Linked DNA regions of Homo sapiens: regions 2 and 3 are each linked to region 1. The links are contacts of gene promoters, found by promoter capture Hi-C in blood cells and fetal thymus (Javierre and others, 2016). All regions are on one chromosome and are shown on one strand. Each heading gives the region's core, a stretch centred on a gene start or on the middle of the fragment in contact. The rest is flanking DNA. Distances are from core to core; before and after follow the strand shown. Region 1 holds the start of DUOXA1 (dual oxidase maturation factor 1). Region 2 has its middle 17 kb from the start of SLC28A2-AS1. Region 3 overlaps SLC28A2 (solute carrier family 28 member 2).

The links. The method cuts DNA at HindIII sites, captures the fragments that hold promoters and counts their contacts. A CHiCAGO score of 5 or more calls a contact.
Region 2: a contact is called between a fragment that was not itself captured here and the fragment with the promoter of DUOXA1 in region 1, in 1 of 17 cell types (naive B cells). The highest score is 6.1, in naive B cells.
Region 3: a fragment that was not itself captured here is called in contact with the fragment with the promoter of DUOXA1 in region 1 in 9 of 17 cell types (naive B cells, naive CD4 T cells, M2 macrophages and 6 more); the score reaches 9.2 in naive B cells.

The regions. Positions count from the first base shown.
Region 1 is chr15:45,127,991-45,131,502 of GRCh38, reverse strand. DUOXA1 (dual oxidase maturation factor 1) reads left to right here and starts at 1,624. Exons shown (of 9, transcript NM_001276266.2): 1 at 1,624-1,651; 2 at 1,888-2,043; 3 at 2,369-2,485. DUOX1 (dual oxidase 1) reads right to left here and starts at 1,509. Exons shown (of 34, transcript NM_175940.3): 1 at 1,405-1,509. The HindIII fragment of the contact is 6,225 bases long and covers 1,087-3,512 here.
Region 2 is chr15:45,294,610-45,298,121 of GRCh38, reverse strand. No RefSeq gene overlaps it. Among named protein-coding and RNA genes, the nearest start is that of SLC28A2-AS1, 17 kb to the right of the region's middle. The HindIII fragment of the contact is 8,488 bases long and covers 1-3,512 here.
Region 3 is chr15:45,268,930-45,272,441 of GRCh38, reverse strand. SLC28A2 (solute carrier family 28 member 2) reads right to left here. Exons shown (of 18, transcript NM_004212.4): 14 at 2,907-3,104; 15 at 2,166-2,247; 16 at 49-147. The region is part of intron 1 of SLC28A2-AS1 (SLC28A2 antisense RNA 1); the gene reads left to right. Among named protein-coding and RNA genes, the nearest start is that of SLC28A2-AS1, 8.5 kb to the left of the region's middle. The HindIII fragment of the contact is 8,722 bases long and covers 1-3,512 here.

The DNA of each region.
Region 1 (3,512 bases), core at 375-2,874:
TCTCCAATCTGATCCTTGTTTTCCTCTTCCAGCTATGGGAGCAAATATGCCTGAACTGTTTACTTCTAAGCATGGTTGCCAGAATCAAATGTGAGAAGGAGGTTTAATTCAAAGCAAGTGACAGGTGTTGGGCAAATGTGATATAGAGAGGGTAGGCGGGAGCTTGTCTCCTCTGGTTGGATCCAGAAGGGATGCACTACCAGGTGCTCATGTATTTAGTGCAAGCTTCCTGCTCTCTCTCTCTCCACCCAGAGTCAACAGGGAAACAGAGGCAGCAGAGGACTCAGGCTGGGACTCCTGAGTGCGAGTAAGGAGTACCTAAAGCCGGCGAAGACCTCCTGAAGGCAACCTGGAGATTGGGGTTAGGATAGAGGAAGAAAGGAGCTCAGGGAAAGCCTCATCCCCAGCCAAACATCAGGGTTCCTGGATGGGTTGTCTAGAGGAGAGAACCCAGGGAGTGACCTCATCCCTACTCCATCTCCTATTAAATGAAAAAACCTAGGCCCTGCCATAACTGGAAAGCTCAGTATCACCTGCTGCATTTCACAGAGTCTGTCCAGGTGCTGGCCTTTAATAGTGCATGAAGAGCTGGGCTCTGGATGGTTGAAGCTGTAAAGCTGGATATACGGAAGTAGCCACAGCGGTCCTTCCCTGATCCCAAGATGTCATTCCCCTCCCCCGCCACCACCATGTCTTCAGGATCCTGGGCCTCAACGCTAATGTACCACTCAGCCCCTAAGGGCATGAAATGGGCTTTCAGACCAGGCTGTGTGGGGATGACCTGAAGAGGAAGGTGGACATGCTTAATAACCACTCCTTGTGGGTGGGTTGCCCTTAATGATTTACACAACGATGGGGCAGTAACTTCTCAACAACCTTGACAGGAAGGTTGCCCAGGACAGGGCAGTGAAGCCCCAGGCAGAGCCAGCGGCAGAACCAGAGAGAGAACACAGGCCTGCCTGTTCTTGCCCCACATGGCTGCTTTTCCAGCCTGAAGCCCTAGAGTGGTGACCCTGGTGGCCCTGAGGTGGGAGGAAGATGGGTCAAGGCCATCTTGGTCCTAAGGGAGGGCTGAGGGGGAAAGCTTGGATCCTAAAGCCCAAAGCTCCCTCCCTGGTATGTTGTGCTGGTGCCAGGAGAAGAACCCGCAGGCCCAGGCAAACTAGGCCACCCAACATTCCCAGGTCCCAAAGAACCCAGTCTCTCAAAACCTTGATTGGGCAGAGGACAGGCCCTAACAGGACCGGTTTTAGCCTTAGGATAAGATCGGAGGCGCAGGGGGCTAGCATTCCCCTTTCTTCCATAACGTGGAGGAGCTGCGGCTCCCCCGCCACCCTGCCCTTGGAGCTCCCTCCCCCGGAGCGCCCAGGCCCGCGGGCCGGGAAAAGCCCTCCCAAATCTGACCTGCGGCCACGGCGTCACCAGAGCCCGGGACTGCAACTTGTCTCCGGCCTGGCTGCCAGCTGGGCCCGCGGAGCCCTCTCTCGTCCGGTGCCTCTGCAGCTCTGCGCCGGGACGGGCGGGGCTGGGGGTGAGGAGGGGAAGGCACGGCCCGGCTCGGCTCAGCCACGGGGCGGGGCGCAGTGGGGCGGGATGGAGTCTGGCGCCTGGGGAGGCGCGGAGGTGCTTCCAGCGGACGGCAGCGCGCGAGGTGAGACGGCGAGGGCTCCCGGGGCGCAGGTAGAGATGTTCCGTCGGTGCCGAAGGCCCGGCTAGTGCGGTTGTGTGGACGGCGAAAAAAGCAAGTCCGCCTTCACAAGTCCCATGGGGCTGGGGAGAGGGTGGGAGGCGGAGAGGGTATGGGGAGGGGAGACTCTCCTCAGATCCTCTCGACACCGTCGGGTCTGGGCTCCAAGTCCAAGGCCATCGATCACCTGCCACCCACAGACCAGGCCAGGCGTCAAAGCAAGTCACCCATCCGACCTAAACCCCTCTAAGACCCCGGAGTCACGTCTCCCTCCGGGGATCCTCGTGAGGTCTTGGGGGTCCCACCGCCCTGCGAGCCGCGCCCGCGCCCCGCCAGACCCGGAACTGCGTCGCTAGGTTTGCGCTGGAGCTGCTGGGATTGCTGGGCATGGGTGGGGGGGCGCAGAGGAGGAGGGGGGATTGGAGGGACCTCTGCGGAGCTGGCAGACCCCGGTACTACTGTCCTGGCGCACCCAGCCCTTCTCTGTACCAGGCCGGGAGAGGGAGGCGGCGCCGCAGAGCCTCGGGTGCAGTCTGAGAAGTTTGGGAGTGACTTGAAGAGTGACTGGAAGCACCCCAGACCCGGTTTGTCCGGTCACAGCCGGGTCCTTACGTGAGTTAGGAGAGGAGTGGGGGTCGGACGGGAGCCCCACTGAGAGTAAGGGCGCGCGTTTGTTCACAGAACGTCGGGACCTGGTTCCCTCTTTAATCACACCCCCGGGGGCGCTTCGTGTGAGGTTCCACGGGGGAAGGCGAGAGGCGCAGGCTGCCACACACGCACTGTTTGGAAGAGGGGAAGGTAGGGAATAGTGGTCCGGGTGTGGGTGGTGGGGGATGCGGCTGCTTAGATCTGTGCGGTCCAGGTGATTTTGGAGGGGGTCTTGAAGTGCTTGCTCCCGCCCTGGCACCTAGGGCTGCACTTCCTGCTTTCATCCAGACCAAGTTCGGATCAAGTGGGAGTTCTTCAAAGAGAGAGTTTGGTAAGAAACTGGGGAGGCAAGGAAAACCTCTTAAGGCCATAAATGCCACAAGGTTTATAGACATCGAATCGCCATCCCAGTTTAACTCGAGTCTGGATACTTTGGCTTGCATGATTCTGCACCCTTGAATTCCTTATCCACATCAGCCCTTACTGGGGAATCCTGCCTCCAATCCACTTTTCAGATCTTGTTCAATTTCTCCACTTAACTCCTATTTTTGTGCAACAACACACATATACATTCATACACAGATACACACGTACACACAGACCCCTTCCTTGAAGAGGAAAGTCTAGCACAGGAGTTCCTGACAGGGTCCCCTTAGCTAGCCACAGCTGTAAACGTTTAATGGGGTCTACCCCAATCAGAGAAAAAAGCATCACATTGCAGTAGCTGTGCATTACCAATCAGAGGTCTTGGCAACTCCAGCCATGTCACCCACTCCCCACTTGTGGAGAATTAGTGGCCCTTACTCTATAGTTTCCAGCAGATGGGGGAGGTGGGCAAGGGGGAAGACTTCAGGAAAAAAGTCCTGTCAGGCTACAAGAGAGGCCACAAGACGTTAGCACATAACTTTGAATGAAGAAGGCTGGAGGTTGTTCTAGGCTGAATTTTCTTAAAGATTGTAACTTTATGTTTTACCCACCTCTCATACACACATAGGAACTCCACTTCAACCTGTGGTAGGTAAGGATTGGGTAATTGTGTCTATAATAAGATTGAGCATAAGGAAAGTCTTCAGTACATAAGGGAGCCTGGAAAGGGAGGATGCTGCCTCCTCCTCCCTAGGCCAGGTGAGAAAGGAGGACCCTAAAGTGTGGGAAACTCCCCCCACCCCATGAGAAA
Region 2 (3,512 bases), core at 578-3,077, 170 kb before region 1:
CCACATGGAAGCTGCCAAGGCTTGGGGCTTGCACCCTCTGAAGCCACGGCCTGAGCTCTATGTTGGCCCTTTTCAGCCATGGCTGGAGCAGCTGGGATGCAGGGCACCAAGTCCATAGACTGCACACAGCACAGGGACCCTGGGCCCTGCCCATAAAACCATTTTTTCCTCCTAGACCTCTGGGTCTTTGATGGGAGAGGCTGCTGCAAAGGTCTCTGACATGCTCTGGAGACATTTTCCCCATCATCTTGGGGATTAACATTTGACTCCTCATTACTTATGCAAATATCTGCTTGAATTTACAAATATCTGCTTGAATTCCTCCTCAGAAAATGGGATTTTCTTTCTTTTTTTTTTTTTTTTTGATGGAGTCTCACTCTGTTGCCCAGCCTGGAGTGCAATGGTGCAATCTTGGCTTACTGCCACCTCCATCTCCTGGGTTCAAGTGATTCTCTTGCCTCAGCCTCCTGAGTAGCTGGGATTACAGGTGTGAGCCACCATGCCTGGCTAATTTTTGTATTTTTAGTAGAGACGGGGTTTCACCATGTTGGCCAGGGTAGTCTAGAATTCCTGACCTCAAGGGATCTGCCCACCTCAGCCTCCCAAAGTGCTGGGATTACAGGTGTGAGTTGCCGCGCCCAGCTAGGATTCTTTTCTATCGCACTGTCAGGCTGCAAATTTCCTGAACTTTTATGCTCTGCTTCCCTTTTAAAACTGAATGCCTTTAACAGCACCCAAGTCACATCTTGAATGCTTTGCTGCTTAGAAATTTCTTCCACTAGATGCCCTAAATCATCTCTCTCAAGTTCAAAGTTCCACATATCCCTAGGGCAGAGGCAAAATGCCACCAGTCCCTTTGCTAAAACATAACAAGAGTCACATTTGCTCCAGTTCCCAACGAGTTCCTCATCTCTATCTGAGACCACCTTAGCCTGGACCTTATTGTTCATATCACTATCAGCATTTTTGTCAAAGTCATTCAACACATCTCTAGGACGTTCCAAACTTTCTCACATTTTTCCTGTCTTCTTTGAGCCCTCCAAACTGTTCCAACCTCTGGCTATTACCCAGTTCCAAAGTCGCTTCCACATTTTTGGGTATCTTTTCAACAACACCCCACTCAACTGGTACCAATTTACTGTATTAGTCCATTTTCACGCTGCTGATAAAGACATACCCAAGACTGGGAAGAAAAAGAGGTTTAATTGGACTTACATTTCCACAAGGCTGGCAAGGCCTCAGAATCATGGTGGGAGGCAAAAGGCACTTCTTACATGGTGGTGGCAAGAGAAAATGAGGAAGATGCAAAAGCGGAAACCCCTGATAAAACCATCAGATCTCATGAGACTTATTCACTACCATGAGAACATTATGGGAGAAACTGCTCCCATGATTCCACTTATCTCCCACTGGGTCCCTCCCACAACATGTGGGAATTATGGGAATACAATTCAAGATGAGATCTGGGTGGGGAACAGATCCAAACCATATCAGTCTGGCTCCAGTGAGTGTGCTGCAAACCCACTATAACCACTGTCTCCGGAAGCCTAGGATGAACATGGCTATAATTCAAGAAGCAAATTACTGAGGCTTCCCTCTTTCTTTGAGTCAGGTTTCAAAGACATGGGAGATGGGGGAGAAGGATGAGGAAGAGGATCAAAGGGTTTTTTTTTGTTTTGGTGCTGTGTTCTCTGAGCTTGGTGGGTTGAATGATGAAGTGGTGATATAGTTTGGATATTTGTTCTCTCCAAATCTCATATTGAAATTGATCTCCAGTGTTAGAGTTGGGGCCTGGTGGGAGACGTTTGAGTCAGGAAGGTGGATTCCTCATGACCAAATTGGCGTCATCCTCACTGTAATGAGTGAGTTCTCTATTAGCTCACAGGAGAGCTGATTGTTTAAAAGAGCATGGCACTCCTGTCCCCTCTCTTGTTCCCTCCCTCACCATGTGACACGCCTGCTCCCCTTTCACCTCCAGCATGGTTGGAAGCCTCCTGAGGTCCTGGCCGGAAGTAGATGCTGGTACCATGCTTCTTGTACAGCCTGCAGAACAGTGGGCCAAATAAACCTCTTCTCCTTATAAATTACCTCAGGTATTCCTTTACAATAATGCAAAACAGACTGAGTAAACATAGAGGATGTGAGTATTCTTTTGAAATCATTTTTAAAATTTATTTGCTAAAATATTAATAGAAAAATTATTAATAGAAAAATTATTAAATGATCTCTTATTAAAATGGAAAAAGATGGCTTGGTGCAGTGGCTCACACCTGTAATCCCAGCACTTTGGGAGGCCAAGGCAGGTGGATCACCTGTGGTCGGGAGTTCAAGACCAGCCTGACTAACAAGGAGAAACACCATCTCTACTAAAAATACAAAATTAGCCAGGCATGGTGGCACATACCTGTAATCCCAGCTACTCAGGAGGCTGAAGCAGGAGAATCGCTTGAACCTGGGAGGCAGAGGTTGTGGTGAGCCAAGATCGTGCCATTGCACTCCAGCTTGGGTAACAAGAGCAAAACTCCATCTCAAAAAAATAAAAAATAAATAAGGAAAAAGACATGACTATTTAATACTAAACCATAGTGAAGAATTTTAAAGAGCAGGATACCCCAGAAGTTTGTAAATAGAAAGTATTTTTGTTTCAATATTAATAGTTAAAGAGATATGTAACAGCTGTGTAAATGTGGGAGTGGGGGGACTGTCCATTAAGTTTATACACTCCTTTCAAATGATTCTGTAGTTGCAAGAATTTCAGCTCACCCTCAAAATGTCTAGAAATAGAGTTTTTCTCCACAAGTGCTATTCTTTGCTATACCACATTACGTCATACAATTTATAGAATGACTATGAGGAATTAAAATGTTAAGATTTTATTTGACATGGTAATGTTTATTATTTCAAACCTAATTCAGGTAGGATCCACAGACAATTTTAAATATTGTTGAGGAAGTTTTCATTGTTAGGATACAGCGAACCAAAACCAAACATTAACATTTTCTATTAGAGATATTGGTGAATTGATTGTAGAATGGGAAGTCACTAGCTTTGCCAACAAAAAGGTAGCCTGAATGAGGAATGCTGAGGAAATGGACCAGTCTTACGCATGGTGGTATGCTTAAACTCCAAAGTCTTTTCCACCTAGGGACTGGCAAAAGATGGTGCCCTCTAGAGAAGTGCTACAATGAAAAGGGAATGGAATGCATGGTGGTTCAGAATGATACAAAGCAATGAGACCGTATTAGTAAGCTAAGCAGCTAGGGAAAGCCTTCAGCAATGACTTCATGAACAAAAATTTATTTTCCCTTTCATACCCCACATTACACCAATAAGAAGTTCTGTAAAGTGTGCAGTAAAAACCACTTCCTTCAATTCTACCCCTGTCAGGGAATCACTCCCCAGGCTTTGTCAAAATCAAGTTTATGCTTTGCAGTTTTATTTATTTCATGGGCTTTCATCTTAAAAATTGAGTTAGCTACTCAGAAGGTACTTCTTGTGGTGGGCCTCTCAGC
Region 3 (3,512 bases), core at 1-2,500, 140 kb before region 1:
ACCATCACCCTCATGCAGCAGTATCTCCATCAGAGCTGAGGCACCTACCTGCCATACAGGCACTGATAAGGGATACACAGGCCCCTGTGAAGAGGGCCCTGACCACAACCTTGGACAAGTCACTCTTCCGGTGAGGTACTATTGATGCTGCAGACAATAAAATAAAATAACTTCAGCTTTTCCCCACCAAGGCAATCAGGTATATCCCATGGGCCCCCACTTAGAAGAACGCAGAGAAACAAAACACAGCCGATGAAGAGCATCCTTATTACCATCCACCTGAGACTGGCCAGTGTTGCCCTAAGAAGTGTGTGTATACATTAGTCCTGAGGGATCACTAACTTAGACTTTCCTCAGATCAAGTATTGAGTGTCTGACCCTCACTTTAATGGTTCTGTGAACATACCCAAGATGTATCTGGATAAAGCAAGGCTCTGGGTTTCTCCAGACAGGTACAAATGCCTGGCGTTCACTGCTTGAGATACGCACTCTTAAGCCTGGACCAGAATTAGATGGACTATTTTGAGACAGAGGGCTAAGGAAAGCAACACTCATTGTGTGGCCTAAGACTTAGCCACACAATGCATATCCCACTACTAGATGGCAGTCTCATAATCGGACAGTAATCAGGCATCAAGACTAGAACAATACAGTCAGGTGTTTGACAGAAGGGGAAAAGGTAAACTGAAAGGGAATTATTTCACCTTTCAATTAAATTGGCTACCAAGTACATGAATTAAATGACTCTACCCCAGAATATAATTGCCTTTAAAAAGGGACACACTGAGCTATATTTCTTATTATAATCTACTCCTTCTAAGATTCCTTCCTTCCTTCCTTCCTTCCTTCCTTCCTTCCTTCCTTTTCTTCTTTTTTTCTTTCTACAGGACCTCCCCATGTCACCCATGCCGGAGTGCAGTGGTGCAATCACAGCTTACTGGAGGCTCGATCTGAGTTCAAGCAATCCTCCCACCTCAGCCTCCCGAGTAGATAGGACTACAGGCATATGTGCAAATATGCCCAGCTAACTTTCAAATTCTTCGTAGAGACAGAATCTCACCATGTTGCCCCAGGCTGCTCTCAAACTCCTATAGCAAGCAATCTTCCTGCCTTGGCCCAAAGTGTTGGGATTACAGGCATGAGCCACCACATCCAGCCTAAGATCCATTTCTAACTTGGATCTTCCAAACTTGGGATCTGCTAGTCACCCCTGTGCCCCTGCACTCAAGGACAATTCCACTTTCCTCATATTATTCCTCCAACAATCACCCCCATGCAGCAGTATCTCCAACAGTCTAAATATATCTGTGTCTGCTTCAAAGACCCACTCCTTTAACATTTGGTACTTGCATATTTAAATCCAACACTTTACACCACTCTCTCTTACTGTCTATCTGCCTTATGTGCCTGCTGCTTTTATTTGTTTTAATTCTTTGTGTTTCCATGAGGATGACTAGTGAGCAGCCTAATTTCAAAAAGTGTCTTCACTACTGAATAAAATACAAGACCAGGTGTGGTGGCTCACGCCTGTTATCCCAACATTTTGGGAGGCCAAGGCAGCAGATCACTTGAGGCCAGGAATTCAAGACCAGCTTGGCCAACATGGTGAAACCCCGTCTCTTCTAAAAATACAAAAAAAATAATAATAATAATAATGGGCATAGTGGCACACACTTGTAATCCCAGCTCGGGAGGCTGAGGCATGAGAATCACTTAAACCCAGGAGGTGGAGGTTTAAGTGAGCTGAGATCACACCACTGCACTCCAGCCTGCGCAACAGAGTGAGACTCTGTTTCAAAAAAAATTAAATAAATAAATAAATAAATATCTTTATTTATATATGCACTATTCCAATTTAATGGCAAAATTGAAATAATATCATTATATTTTCTTCCTCATAGAGAAAATTAAAATAAAATTAGTTTTTGGGGCCTCCAATCCAAAGGAAAAAGAAGTAACTGAAGTTGAGATTATAAAGGGCTGTATGCATTAGCCAGGTGGGCATGACTGCCTTAGGTCCAAGTTAACTGCAGCCTAAGAAATGGGCCCATTTCACAATGGCTTCTCTATCTGATCCCAGCTTGTACTGAAGCACCAGGACTGCCCACTACAGAAGCTGGGATCTGGCTGTCTTACTGGGGAGCTGGGAAAATGGATGAACTCACTCAAGCCTCCAAGTGTGATTCCTATGGAACTAAGATTGGCAAATCCACAGAGTGAAAATGTTGTAATGATTTCAGCTCTCACCTAGGGAAAACAAAAATAAATAAGCAAATAAATTCAGTCCCATGCGTGCGGTCTTATAATCACAATAGAAGTTCCAGAGTACTGACAGCCCCCAGTCTTTTCCATGGTTTCCCAAGGAACATGAAAGGATGCTCAGAAAACAACTGTTCCCTGAGTTACTATAGGGATAATGACATGGAAACCACCATGGGCCTCATTGCCCAACGCTGTTCCTGTTGAAGGCTATGAATAACGAGAAGGCCTGGGAATGAGAAGGATTGCGAAGGAGGAGGAGAGAGGCAAAGGGAAAGAAAAAGAATATTAATTTGGAGCAATTTAAACTTATAAGTGAAGAAGGGGACCTTAGACCATCAAAAGATAGTGTCTGCCCTGGACTGCCCCAGCTGTAAAGACCCAGCAATTACATTATAGAGAGAAGTTGGGTCACAGTTGGGGCAGTGGTGGGGGTGGCAGGGGGAAAATAGCATGCAGACCCATAATAGCTCAGGCGCTGCAGATGAGGCTGCTAGGTAGGCTGTTCTGCTGGCTTTGTAGTTAGGCCTGCGACCCCAGAAAGGCATCTGCAGGTCTGCAACAAACCTGTTTGGCACTTTCTGTCTACCCTCAGATAACCATGGCTGAGACCTCACGGTGTTTATGCTTTTTGGATTGTCACTTACAGAAATCCACTGTTTCTCTCCCTCAATCCACTCCTCCATTCCAGAGAGACGTTTGTTCTTGTATTGAGACAGTTGCTGATAAGCCACAAACTCATTTATGAAGAACTTGATTCCCACCATCTCAGCCACCATTGGACAGTCTGTCCACTCTACACCCATCATGAAAACCATGGGCCTTAGGAGATAGGAGCAGATGACCTGAGTGAAAGAGAGATATCACAGGAAAAGGAAGGACTAATATAACAAAGGTCAGGTGCCAAGGACCTTCTCTGGAGCCTTGGCCCAATCTCTTCCACCCTTCTATTCATGCTCTCTCTTGGCTTACTGTGGGTCAGAAGGACATGCATGGTTGTTTTTTTTTTATTATTATTATACTTTAAGTCTTAGGGTACATGTGCACAATGTGCAGGTTAGTTACATATGTATACATGTGGCATGCTGGTGTGCTGCACCCATCAACTCGTCATTTAGCATTAGGTATATCTCCTAATGCCATCCCTCCCCCCTCCCCCCACCCCACAACAGTCCCCAGAGTGTGATGTTCCCTTTCCTGTGTCCATGTGTTCCCATTGTTCAATTCCCACCTATGAGTGAGAACATGTGGTG